Linked DNA regions of Homo sapiens: region 1 is linked to region 2. The links are contacts of gene promoters, found by promoter capture Hi-C in blood cells and fetal thymus (Javierre and others, 2016). All regions are on one chromosome and are shown on one strand. Each heading gives the region's core, a stretch centred on a gene start or on the middle of the fragment in contact. The rest is flanking DNA. Distances are from core to core; before and after follow the strand shown. Region 1 overlaps PTCH2 (patched 2). Region 2 holds the start of KIF2C (kinesin family member 2C).

The links. Contacts are between HindIII fragments. The CHiCAGO score rates a contact against its expected background, and 5 or more counts as called.
Region 1: a contact is called between a fragment that was not itself captured here and the fragment with the promoter of KIF2C in region 2, in 1 of 17 cell types (total CD8 T cells). The highest score is 5.0, in total CD8 T cells.

The regions. Positions count from the first base shown.
Region 1 is chr1:44,828,781-44,834,775 of GRCh38, reverse strand. PTCH2 (patched 2) reads left to right here. Exons shown (of 22, transcript NM_003738.5): 3 at 2,435-2,624; 4 at 2,732-2,801; 5 at 2,979-3,070; 6 at 3,733-3,928; 7 at 4,746-4,867; 8 at 5,015-5,162; 9 at 5,243-5,374; 10 at 5,464-5,619; 11 at 5,702-5,794. Among named protein-coding and RNA genes, the nearest start is that of PTCH2, 11 kb to the left of the region's middle. The HindIII fragment of the contact is 7,207 bases long and covers 1-5,995 here.
Region 2 is chr1:44,735,412-44,742,049 of GRCh38, reverse strand. KIF2C (kinesin family member 2C) reads right to left here and starts at 2,213. Exons shown (of 21, transcript NM_006845.4): 1 at 2,048-2,213; 2 at 1,043-1,137. The coding sequence starts at 2,117. RefSeq lists an enhancer at 2,393-2,562. The HindIII fragment of the contact is 10,096 bases long and covers 1-6,638 here.

The sequences.
Region 1 (5,995 bases), core at 1,472-3,971, 92 kb before region 2:
CTCTTCCTTTCTGCACCACAATGCATCCCAGTTCACCTGTCCATATCTATCTTTGTCAACTAAGGTTTATCTTTTTCTCTGCCCCATTTTCTCCCCTGAGGAGTCTTTATTCTCTTTGATGCTCCATTTTAAATTATCCGTGTTTCTTTCTCTTGCTTTCTTATCAGATCTCTCTGGGTTCCTTCCTCCTCCCATGCCTCCTTCCTCTCAGCAAACCCACTTACTATGGAGAGCTTATCTCTGTCCTCTTCTTCCCTTCCATGCGGCAGCCTTCGGCCTAATCTTGGTGAAATAAACACTGCAGTACAGGCCTGGCAAAAGAGTGGGGAGTAGGGGAGAGTCGGAGAAGGAGAGGCTGGGCACGGTGGCTCACACCTGTAATCCCAGCACTTTGTGAGGCCGAGGCTGGCAGATCACCTGAGGTCAGCAGTTCAAGATCAGCCTGGCGAACAGGGTGAAACCCCATCTCTACTACTAATAATATAAAAATTAGCCAGGCGTAGTGGCAGGCACCTGTAATCCCAACTACTCGGGAGGCTGAGGCAGGAGAATCGCTTGAACCCGGGAGGCAGAGGTTGCAGTGAGCCGAGATTGCACCATTGCACTCCAGCCTGGGCAATAAGAGCGAAACTCAGTCTCAAAAAAAAAAAAAAGGGAAGGAACTGGCAGTGTGGGGAGCAGGACAGGAAGACTGTTTTCATGAGGTGAAGGCCAGGAATGTGACTTTTGGGGCACGAGGGGACATGTGAGCATATGGGTAAGTATGTGTTGGGGGCTACCAAGGATTTGGGGCTTTTGTGAGTGAGAAGATTACATGGGTTTGAAAAAGAGATTGGAGGGCCAGGTGCAGTGACTCACACCTGTAATCCCAGCACTTTAGGAGGCTGGGGTGGGAGGATCGCTTGAGCCCAGGAATTTAAGACCAACTTGGGGCCGGGTGCGGTGGCTCACTCCTGTAATCCCAGCACTTTGGGAGGCCGTGAAACCCCACCTGTACTAAAAATGCAAAAAATTAGCTGGCCATGGTGGCAGGTGCTTGTAATCCCAGCTACTCGGAAGGCTGAGGCACGAGAATCGCTTGAACCTGGGAGACAGACGTTGCAGTGAGCCACAAAAAAGACCAGCTTGGGCAACATAGTGATGAGACCTCGTCTCTACAAAAAATTTAAAAATTAGCCAGGCCTGGTGGCGGGTGCCTGTGGTCCCAGCCACTTGGGAGGCTGAGGTGGGAGGATCACCTGAGCCCAGGAAGTCGAAGCTATAGTGAGCTATGATCAGGCCACTGCACTCCAGCCTGGGCAATAGAGCAAGACTCTGTCTCAAAAAAAAAAAAAAAAGGAAAAGAGATTGGGAAACATGACGATCTCAGATGGGGCTTGAGTCTCAGAGAAGCAGTACGTTTGGGTCCCAGCAGGCAGCAAAGACTAACAGGAGGAGACCCCCAGACAGGTGGAAACAGCGCAGGGTCTGAGATCAGACCAAATCCGCAAAGCCTCCAGAGGTAGATTTGGCCCTCACTCTTCCCCACATCATAGTTAGGTGATAGCCCCTCACAATGTCCCCACCTCCCCCAGGTCCCAGTTACAGAGCAGGAGCCTGTGGCCAGCATAACGCAGGACTGGAGGGGCGCTAAGATCCAGGACACTATGGCAGGCCTGGCGCCGGGAATCCCTGTGGTCTGGACAGTGAGGGCGGTGAAAAGGATCTGGACACCTCCCTCCCCTTGGCCCACTTTGATTTCACCCCTGCCAGGGTTCGTGAGCTGATTCCATGCACTTTCTGCCTGAGTGGGAGCAGCACACTGAATGACTGTCCCATCCTCCCTCTCCCCCACACCAACACAGGGCCCATTATTATCACCCATTATTATCAGACACTCCTATCCCTGCCCTCTCCTTAGGACACTTTGCAGAAAGGTGTGTGGATATAAATCACTGCCCAGAGCAACCTGAACTAAGAACCAGCCCTAGCCCTACACCTGTTCTTTTAGGAAACCCTCCTAGCAGCAGCCTCCCTATTGGCCCCTATTGGCCCTCCTTGTCCTCCCCACCAGAACAGAGAGGGACTGAGCGAGGGTTCCCTTACCAAGATGCCCCTACAACCCCCACAGCCCACGGCCAGCTCATGCTGATTGTCATTTTTAAGTTTACACCCAAAACCCAGCCAACCTGGTTCATGCTTAAGCCCTAGACCACACAAGAAATCCGCAGAGCCACACAACCGAGGCTTCTCCACTTCCCTGGCAGAGCTCCAGGACCCAGAAGCCTGGGGAGTCGGCCTGGGCCATGACCAGGCCCTCAGGGATAAGGCAGGGACTCCTCTCTGCCGCACCTCTCCCACTTGTCTGGGGAGGCCTCAGAGTTAGAAGCCCCCTTCCCAAGTTCTGACCCGCCTAGGCCCTTTCCCCCCCAGCTTTCTCTGTTTGCTCTGGCAGTGGGCAGCCGGGTGAGCCAGGAGCTGCATTACACCAAGGAGAAGCTGGGGGAGGAGGCTGCATACACCTCTCAGATGCTGATACAGACCGCACGCCAGGAGGGAGAGAACATCCTCACACCCGAAGCACTTGGCCTCCACCTCCAGGCAGCCCTCACTGCCAGTAAAGTCCAAGTATCACTCTATGGGAAGTGAGTCTGGCTGAGCCCCTGAGCAGCTGGGGGCGAGGCGTGCTGTGGGGGTTCTGGAGTGGGAATCCCCTTCTTCTGCTGATCTCCTATGCCCCTGGCTATTGCAGGTCCTGGGATTTGAACAAAATCTGCTACAAGTCAGGAGTTCCCCTTATTGAAAATGGAATGATTGAGCGGGTAAGTGTCCTGAGAGGGAGTAGAGGCAGAACTTTTTCTGTAGCGTGGGAGGACTCAGAGACCGAGCAAGCCCCACAGCCTGCAATCTGCCCCCTTAAAACTAAGGAGGGGGATTGCAGAGGGCATCCTACAAAGGTTGTGGGGCAGGACTGACGTGGCCCGGGGTATCCCTGGCAGATGATTGAGAAGCTGTTTCCGTGCGTGATCCTCACCCCCCTCGACTGCTTCTGGGAGGGAGCCAAACTCCAAGGGGGCTCCGCCTACCTGCCGTGAGTGCCACTCCTGGGGCCCTGCTTCATCTCCCGCTGGGGACTCTCCCAGCAGAAAGGAGGGGTCTGGGGAATGAGGATGATCAAAACCTTACCAAGGTCCTAATTACCTCCCAGGCCAGGAACAGAGAGCATGGGCTTCCCCAAGGCTCTCTCCACATCCTCCTTCTCTTTCCCTCTCAAGGAAGGAAGACCTGACTTATTTACACAAAACTAAACACAAAGATCTGTAAGATCTGAGCAAAGGAGAAAAAGATCCCCACAAAGAGGCTTTGCTGGGGGAAATTACCTAGGTGTTTGCTAAGCCATTGCCCAGGCCAGAAAGAAAACCTGCTACAGGCATGTGCCTGCTGGTTGTATATTAGAACCAAGCACACAGCTTGGTAAGGAACTCAGTGGGGCCTTTCTGGGCCCTTTCTATGTATTAGGTAACCCTGCCCTGATATTCGTCTCAGCCCCTTGTACTCTTCTACAGCTCACTGTAGCACCCTGGTGGGCCCATGCAGCCTGGCAGTTCTGAGAAGCTGAGGCTTGCACACCCTCCATATGGAAGGACAAATCGGCAGATAAGAGGAGGGTGGGGTACAGCATGGCGCCCCAGCAGCAGTTTGGAGCCTGGGTTTTCGTCCCTGACCCTCACCAACTATAGGCTTTTCCCTCAGCGGCCGCCCGGATATCCAGTGGACCAACCTGGATCCAGAGCAGCTGCTGGAGGAGCTGGGTCCCTTTGCCTCCCTTGAGGGCTTCCGGGAGCTGCTAGACAAGGCACAGGTGGGCCAGGCCTACGTGGGGCGGCCCTGTCTGCACCCTGATGACCTCCACTGCCCACCTAGTGCCCCCAACCATCACAGCAGGCAGGTGGGTTCCAACCAGGTCTGCCAGGGAAAGGCTGTTTTCCTTCCCTTTCCCTTCCTCATACTCCTGTGTTCTGGGGGAGCTGACTGCTCTGTGCCCTGACCCCCCACTTCCTGGCCATTATTACCCTGCTCCCACAGTGCCAGGCCCCCAATGTTCCATTCCCATTCAGTTATCCTACGGAGCCCTCAAGTGGTATATATGAATCCCTTTTTCCTTTTCTAAGCCTAGATAAGGCTGGACTTCTTTTTTTTTTTTTTTTTGAGTCTCACTCTGTCACCCAGGCTGGAGTGCAGTAGTTCGATCTTGGCTCACTGCAACCTCGGCTCAAGCAATTCTCCTGCCTTAGCCTCCTGAGTAGCTGGGATTACAGGTGCCCACCACCATGCCCGGCTAATTTTTATTAGCCTCCCAAAGTGCTGGGATTACAGGCGTGAGCCACTGCGCCTGGCCAAGGCTGGACTTTTTATCAAAATAGACTAATACAGGGAAACTAAGAACACAGCAGGTAAGCATGAATATCATACCTGGTTTCCCAGGTTTCTTTGTGGCCCTGCAAATGTGGTACTTTTTTCAGAATCCGCCAGTTACACCAGCTCCTCCCAGAAGCCCTTCCAGGCCTCTGCTTCCCCTTGGGGCTTCCTGTCTGCGGGATACTAGCTGTTCACTCCTGCAGAGCAGTCAAGAGGCTCAGAATAGTTACCTACACTCCAGCCCTACTGAGCTTCATGGCAGCGTGGTTCCTGGAGGTGGAAGCCCAGGGACACTCAGTTATCCACGGCCAGGGCCTTGAGCATTAACCCCTCCTGTTCCCCTCCAGGCTCCCAATGTGGCTCACGAGCTGAGTGGGGGCTGCCATGGCTTCTCCCACAAATTCATGCACTGGCAGGAGGAATTGCTGCTGGGAGGCATGGCCAGAGACCCCCAAGGAGAGCTGCTGAGGTAGGGTCTCCTCTGGGAGTTGGTGAGGGGACTCTGTTCATGAGAACCCATACTGTAATGCCAGGCAGCTCTGGCAAAAGGCCCTTCACATCCCTCACCAGGTGTTTGGGCCAGCTCTGACCCCTGGTTCTCCCACACCCCCACCAGGGCAGAGGCCCTGCAGAGCACCTTCTTGCTGATGAGTCCCCGCCAGCTGTACGAGCATTTCCGGGGTGACTATCAGACACATGACATTGGCTGGAGTGAGGAGCAGGCCAGCACAGTGCTACAAGCCTGGCAGCGGCGCTTTGTGCAGGTCGGTATGGACAAGGACAAGGGGGGTGCCCTGAGGCCATTCCCTCCTCCTGCCCCCTCCTATCCACCCTGTTTCTCCAGCTGGCCCAGGAGGCCCTGCCTGAGAACGCTTCCCAGCAGATCCATGCCTTCTCCTCCACCACCCTGGATGACATCCTGCATGCGTTCTCTGAAGTCAGTGCTGCCCGTGTGGTGGGAGGCTATCTGCTCATGGTGGGTCTTGCACCTGGCACCTTGCCCCCACCCCACCTCCAACCAGTGCCCACCCTGGGAGCCCCTGAGACTGCCCTTTCCCCCCACAGCTGGCCTATGCCTGTGTGACCATGCTGCGGTGGGACTGCGCCCAGTCCCAGGGTTCCGTGGGCCTTGCCGGGGTACTGCTGGTGGCCCTGGCGGTGGCCTCAGGCCTTGGGCTCTGTGCCCTGCTCGGCATCACCTTCAATGCTGCCACTACCCAGGTACGCCAGGACTGCAGGGCAGACTCAGTGCCAGTCACCAGGCTTCACGGGTCCTCAGCTGCCCGCTCCTCTGCCCCTCCAGGTGCTGCCCTTCTTGGCTCTGGGAATCGGCGTGGATGACGTATTCCTGCTGGCGCATGCCTTCACAGAGGCTCTGCCTGGCACCCCTCTCCAGGTGGGGCCTTGTCCCCCAGGGCTCATCTGAGGCAGCTCAGCTTACTGGTTAAGAGCCTCTTGGTTCAAGTGACCTTGGGCTGCTAATGAACCTCGGTGCCTCTTGTCCCCATCTGTAAACAGGGGAAATAATAGTGCTGTGTCCTAAGGGTTATTGTTTGGATCAGTGAGGTAACTCAAGTTGAATGCTTAGAACAGCCCA
Region 2 (6,638 bases), core at 964-3,463:
AATCCCAATGCATCTGGAAGGGGACCATTCTTTTTTTTTTTTTTTTTTTTTTTGAGACAAGTCCTCATTCTGTTGCCCAGGAGGCTGGAGAGCAGTGGTGCAATTTCAGCTCACTGAAACCTGTGCTTTCCCAGACTCCAGCAATTCTCCAGCCTCAGCCTCCAGAGCAGCTGGGACCACAGGCATGCACCACCATGCCCGGCTAATGTTTTTTGTATTTTTTGTAGAAATGAGGTTTTGTCATGTTGCCCAGCCTGGTCTTGAACTGCTGAGCTCAAAGCGATCTGCCCACCTCGGCCTCCCAAAGTGCTGGGATTATACATGTGAGCCACTGTGCCCAGCCAAGAAGACCATTTTTATTTTTTGAGGAAAGGTCTCACTCTGTCGCCCAGGCCAGAGTGCAGTGGCTCGATCATGGTTCAGTGCAGCCTCAACCTCCCAGGCTAAATCAATCCTCCCACCTCAGCTTCCCGAGTAGCTGGAACCACAGGCGTGAGCCACCACACCCTGATAATTTTTAATTTTTTTGTAGAGACAAGGTCTCAACATTTTTCCCAGGCTGGTCTCGAACTCCTGAGCTCAAGCAATCCTCCAGACCAGGCCTCTCAAAGTGTCGGGATTAGAGGCAAGAGCCACCGCACCCAGCCAATTTTTTTTTTTTTTTTTTTTTGAGACAGATTCTCACTGTCACCCAGGCTGGAGTGCAGCGGCACAGTTTCGGCTCACTGCAACCTCCGCCTCCCAGGTTCAAGCAGTTCTCCTGCCTCAGGCTCCCAAGTAGTTGGGATTACAGGCATGCACTACCACGACTGGCTAATTTTTGTATTTTCAGTAGAGACAGGTTTCGCCATGTTGGCCAGGATGGTCTCGAACTCCTGACATCAGGTGATCTGCCCGTCTCAGCCTCCCAAAGTTCTGGGATTACAGGCGTGAGTGAGAAGAGCACAGCATCAGAAACTAGGCTCTCACAGATTCCACTTCTGCACAGATCCTTTATGTAGGAAGACATTAAATGTGGTAGAGGAATTCTCATAGAACCTACCTCTTTGCCCTTTGTGGCACCTCCTTCTGCCCATTCCACTGAAACACAGGATTTCTCCAAGTTCACAGTCCTTACATTGGCACTGTGAATTAAACCTATAAAGTATGAAAAAACCAGAGTTACCCATCTCTTTCCTGAGAGCTTCACTTTTAGGATTCCACAGAGATTCCCAAAGTGGAGTTAACCTGAAGGAACAGGCAGCTACCTTAAAAAAAAAAAAAAAAAAAACTAAGAGAAACAAATAAATCTCCTGGGCTTCACCTTTAGAATATCCACAGTGAGGTGGGCTGGGGACAGGTTTTTAAACTGAGCTGCATGGGATAAGGATTCACCCCTACTCAAGAGAGCCTACAAAAAAAGAGAGATAGAGCCTACAAAAGAGAACATACAAAAGGTATGTTTGAGCACAGGATTCCCCACAACCCTTAGATGAACTTTTCCTCAACATAGCATTGAGGATCTGGCCCTTTTGGGGTTTTCCTAACTCATTTCTGGCGGTCATATCTGTCCATTTCCCTAATGACACGGGTATCAGACCTGCCAGAACTGCGGTACCTGCTTAAGCAAAAGAGAGAACGACTACAAGCTCCTCAAGCGCAGGGTTCTTGTCTGTCCCGTTTACCTGACATACCGCAACTGCGCAATATTTATTCGAGAGTAAAGGGGCCAGGAGACCGAGGTCCCCATAAGAGCAGGGCATTTTCAGGGGAGAATTTTGGAAGGGAAGTGAATTTAGAAGTCCCAACTTCCCTGGGAGGTCTACCAGCCTTGGAGAAGGTCCGCCCACTCCCAGAGGACTGCGAAAGGGACCACGTACAGCGCAGGGACTCTCACCCCTGTGTAGGCAAGAATGACTGCCAGTGCAGAGACCCGGAGTGAGTGCGTGTGAAAAGGAGGGAGGGAGAGAAAGAGAGTGAAAGCCCATCTGTGTGTCCGGGGACGGGCAGTAATTTCAGTCGTCTCACCGCTCACGAGTCCCCTTGACCTAGGGACCCCGCTCCTCACCATTACTGCGTTGGATCTTGATAGCGAGACCGGGAAACAGGCGGGCCTGAAGCGACGAGTCCATGGCCATTCGGAGAGTCAGCAAGGAAGAGAAACGCGCAATACCAAGAAACCTCAATTTCGCTAACCCTACGAAGTCTTAACGCCGCGTAAACCGCCGCAGTTTAAATCCCGCGCGCAAGCGTCCTTAAAACGTCATTCCGCTGTCCCCGCCCTCGCTTCCGCCAGTCAGCGGCGCCCTGCGGAGCCTTGGGGGAGACGCAGTTCCCAACCATCTTCCTACGCTTGGCACCGCCCATGCGTCTGGCCACACCCCCGAGCGCTGTGCCTTCTGGGAACTTCGCCGCTACGTGGGGTCTGGGGCTCCCATTTCTGGTATTGTCCTCGGTCACCTTGTACTGCGGGGTTCCCGAAAACTGGGAAACTTCAGTATGTATTTGACAATGAGGGCTCTGGGATCCTACAGACATGGGTTCGAATCGTAGCTTCTTCAATTGCAAGTTCAGTGACCTCGAGCAAGTTGGAGACTTGGCCGGGCGCGGTGGCTCACTCCTGTTAATCCCAACACTTAGGAAGGGAGAGGTGGGAGTGATCGCTCGAGATCAGAAGTTCGAGACCAGACAGGGCAACATAGCCAAGACCCTGTTCTCAAAGCAAAACAAAACCACAGATTAGAAACTTGACTTAGTTTTTCTTATTAAATAGTGCAGAAGCATGTTGCCTCATTCAAGGAGTTATGTATAAATTTCCAGAAAGACACTGATTCACCAGATATTTATTGAGTGAAGTCTACCACCTGCTAGGCATGGTACCAGGAAATGGAGATAATGAACTAGACACATAGTTCCTGTCCTCCTTTTTTTTTTTTTCCATTTAACCCTTAGTGGACACAGCACATGTTTCAGAGAGCACGGGGTTGGGGGTAAGGTTATAGATTAACAGCATCCCAAGGCAAAAGAATTTTTCTTAGTACAGAACAAAATGGAGTCTCCTATGTCTACTTCTTTCTACACAGACACAGTAACAATCTGATCTCTCTTTCTTTTCCCCACATTTCCCCCTTTTCTATTCGACAAAACCGCCATCGTCATCATGGCCCGTTCTCAATGAGCTATTGGGTACACCTCCCAGATGGGGTGGCGGCGGGGCAGAGGGGCTCCTCACTTCCCAAATGGGGCAGCCGGGCAGAGGCGCCCCCCCCCCCCACCTCCCAGACAGGGCGGCGGCTGGGAGGGGGCTGCCCCCCACCTCCCAGACGGGGCGGCTGGCCGGTCGGGGGCTTTCCCCCCACCTCCTGGACGGGGCGGCTGCCGGGAGGAGACGCTCCTCATCTCCCGGACGGGGCGGCTGCCGGGCAGAGTGGCTCCTCACTTCTCAGACGGGGCGGCCAGTCAGAGACGATCCTCACCTCCCAGACAGGGTGGCGGCGGGGCAGAGACACTCCTCAGTTCCCAGACGGGGTCGCGGCGGGGCAGAGGCGCTCCCCACATCCCAGACGATGGGCGGCCGGGAAGAGACGCTCCTCACTTCCTAGACCGGGTGGCGGCCGAGCAGAGGCTGCAATCTCGGCACTTTGGGAGGCCAAGGCAGGCGGCTGGGAGGTGGAGGTTGTAGCGAGCCGAGATCACGCCACCGCACTCCAGCCTGGGCAACATTGAGCACTGAGTGAGCGAGACTCCGTCTGCAATCCCGGCACCTCGGGAGGCCAGGGCTGGCAGATCACTCGCGGTCAGGAGCTGGAGACCAGCCCGGCCAGCACGGTGAAACCCCATCTCCACCAAAAAATACGAAAACCAGTCAGGTGCGGCGGCGCGCGCCTGCAATCCCAGGCACTCGGCAGGCTGAGGCAGGAGAATCAGGCAGGGAGGCTGCAGTGAGTCGAGATGGCGGCAGTACAGTTCAGCCTCGGCTTGGCATCAGAGGGAGACCGGGGAGAGGGGGAGGGGGAAAGGGAGAGGTTTTTTTTTTTTTTAATTAGAGACAGTGTCTTGCTATGTTGCCCAGGCTGGTCTTGAACTCCTGGGCTCAAAGATCCTCCCTCCTTAACCTCCCAAAGTGCTAGGATTACATGTGTGAACCACCAAGCCCGGCCTCCTGTTCTTGACGATCTGCCTGCCTCAGCCTCCCAAAATGCTGGTATTACAGGCATGAACCACTGTGCCTGGCCAGGAAAGGTCTTGTTTGAAGAACTGATGACTGGAAGGCAGTGGGGGAGAGGAGCATCAGAAGAAGTTGAAGAGGTGGGGAGGGGCAAAATCATAGAGCATCTTGTGGCCTGTAGTAATAATTTTGGCTTTTATGCTAATGAGAAGTCATTGAAAAGTTTTAAGCAGGGGACTAACATGATCTGATTTACATTTTACTTTTTTTTTTTTTTTTTTTTGAGACAGAATTTCACTCTTGTTGCCCAGGCTGGAGTGCAATGGTGCGATCTCGGCTCACCACAACCTCTGCCTCCCAGGTTCAAGCAATTCTCCTGCCTCAGCCTCCAAAGTAACTGGGATTACAGAGATGCACCATCATGCCCGGCTAATTTTGTATTTTTAGTAGAGACGGGGTTTCACCATGTTGGTCAGGCTGGTCGTGAACTCCCGACCTCAGGTGATCCGCCCACCTCGGCCTCCTAAAGTGCTGGGATTACAGGTGTGAGCCACTGCGCCCAGCCTACATTTTACTTTTATGTCAGTCAAACTTGCTATTGTGTGGAGAGTAGATTTGAAAGGGGCAAGACAGAAGGCAGAGACCGCTTAGTAGGCAAGAGATTATGCTGGCATAGGCCAGGGTAGTGATACTGGATTGGAAGTATGGCTGAAAGAACTGATTCAAGATACCCCATGTTTGGGAAGTGAAGTGAATGGGTTTTGCTGATGAGTTGGATGTGAATGACAGGGGTGGTCATGGATGACTCCTGGTTTCTGGCTAGAGCACCTGGCTGGATGATGGACCATGTCCTGAAAAGGGAAAGTGGGATTGTGAAGGAATGAGTTGGGGGTTAAGTCCAGGGTTTCATTTTGTTCATTTTGAATTTGAGATGTCTACAAGACATCTGAGTGTAGGTGTCAACTGAGCAGTTGGATATACAAACTGGGAGCTAAGGTAGAGGTCAAAGCAAGAGATTGAGATTTGGCAGTCTGCATTATGTAGATGGTATTTGGAGTCATGAGCTGAATACTATCTAGGAAAAGAATATAGATGGAGATGAGAGGAACATGTATAATTGAGCCATGGGACTTGCCAATATTTTGAGGTAGGGCAGGGGAGGAGGAGCCAGCAAAGGAGATGGGATTAGGGTGGTTTGAAGGGATGAAGAAAACAAAAGAGTTGGGGGGAGTTCCTTAGAAGTCAAGGGATGGAATGAAGAAGGTGAAAGTAACTCTGAAGAGCTACTCAAGAGGCCAAATAAGATGAGGACATTCTAGTATCCTTTGGATTTATTAGCACCTAAGTCATTGCTGACCTTGTGCAGTCTTGGTGAACTATTGAGGGTGAGAACCAGACTAGAGAGACAAGAATAGATGGAATATTGTTTAGGGATATGCTGTGGTTTGAATGAGTCCCCCAAATTTTATGTGCTGGAAACTTAATCCCCCAATTCACATATTGATGGCATTTGGAGGTGGGGCCTTTGGGAGGTAATTAGGATTAATAAAGTCATCAGGATGGGGCCCTGTGATGGAATTGGTAGCTTTATAAGAAGAAGAAGAGAGACTTGAGCTGACACGCTCTTGCCCTGTCACTATGTTATTGCTCTCTGCCATGTTATAATGCAGCAAAAAGGCCCTCACAAGATCCAAGCACCATGCTCTTGGACTTCTCAGCCTCCAGAACCATGAATGAAATAAATTTATGTTCATTATAAATTACCCAGTCTCCAGTATTTTGTTATAGCAACAGAAAATGGACTAAGTTGGATGCAGTGGCTCATACCTGTAATCCCAACACTTTGGGAGGCCAAGACAGGCAGATTGCTTGAGCTCAGTAGATCCAGACCACCCTGGGTGACACAGTGAGACCCCCATCTCTGCAAAAAATACAAAAATTAGCTGGGTGTGGTGGCACATGCCTGTAGTCCTGGCTACTCAGGAGGCTGAGGTGGGAGGATCACCTGGGCCTGGGGAGTTCGAGGCCGCAGTGTGCTATGATCGTGCAGCTGCGCTTGAGCCTGGGGAACAGAATGAGACCCTGTTTCAAAAAAAAAAAAAAGAAGGTGGGCCAGCTGTGGTGATTCACACCTGTAATCCCAGCACTTTGGGAGGCTGAGGCAGGAGAATAACTTGAGGCCAGGAGTTCAAGACCAGTCTGGCCAACATAGTGAAACGCTGTCTCTACTAAAAATATAAAAATTAGCTGGGTGTGATGGCACAAGACTGTAATCCCAGCTACTTGGGAGGCTGAGGCACAGGAATCACCTGAACCCAGAAGGCGGGAGTTGCAAGTGGCAGTGAGCTGAGATCACACCACTGCACTACAGCCTAGGTGACAGAGACTCTATCTCAAAAAAAAAAAAGGCCGGGCGCGGTGGCTCACGCCTGTAATCCCAACACTTTGGGAGGCTGAGTCAGGTGGATCCCGAGGTCAGGAGATCTAGACC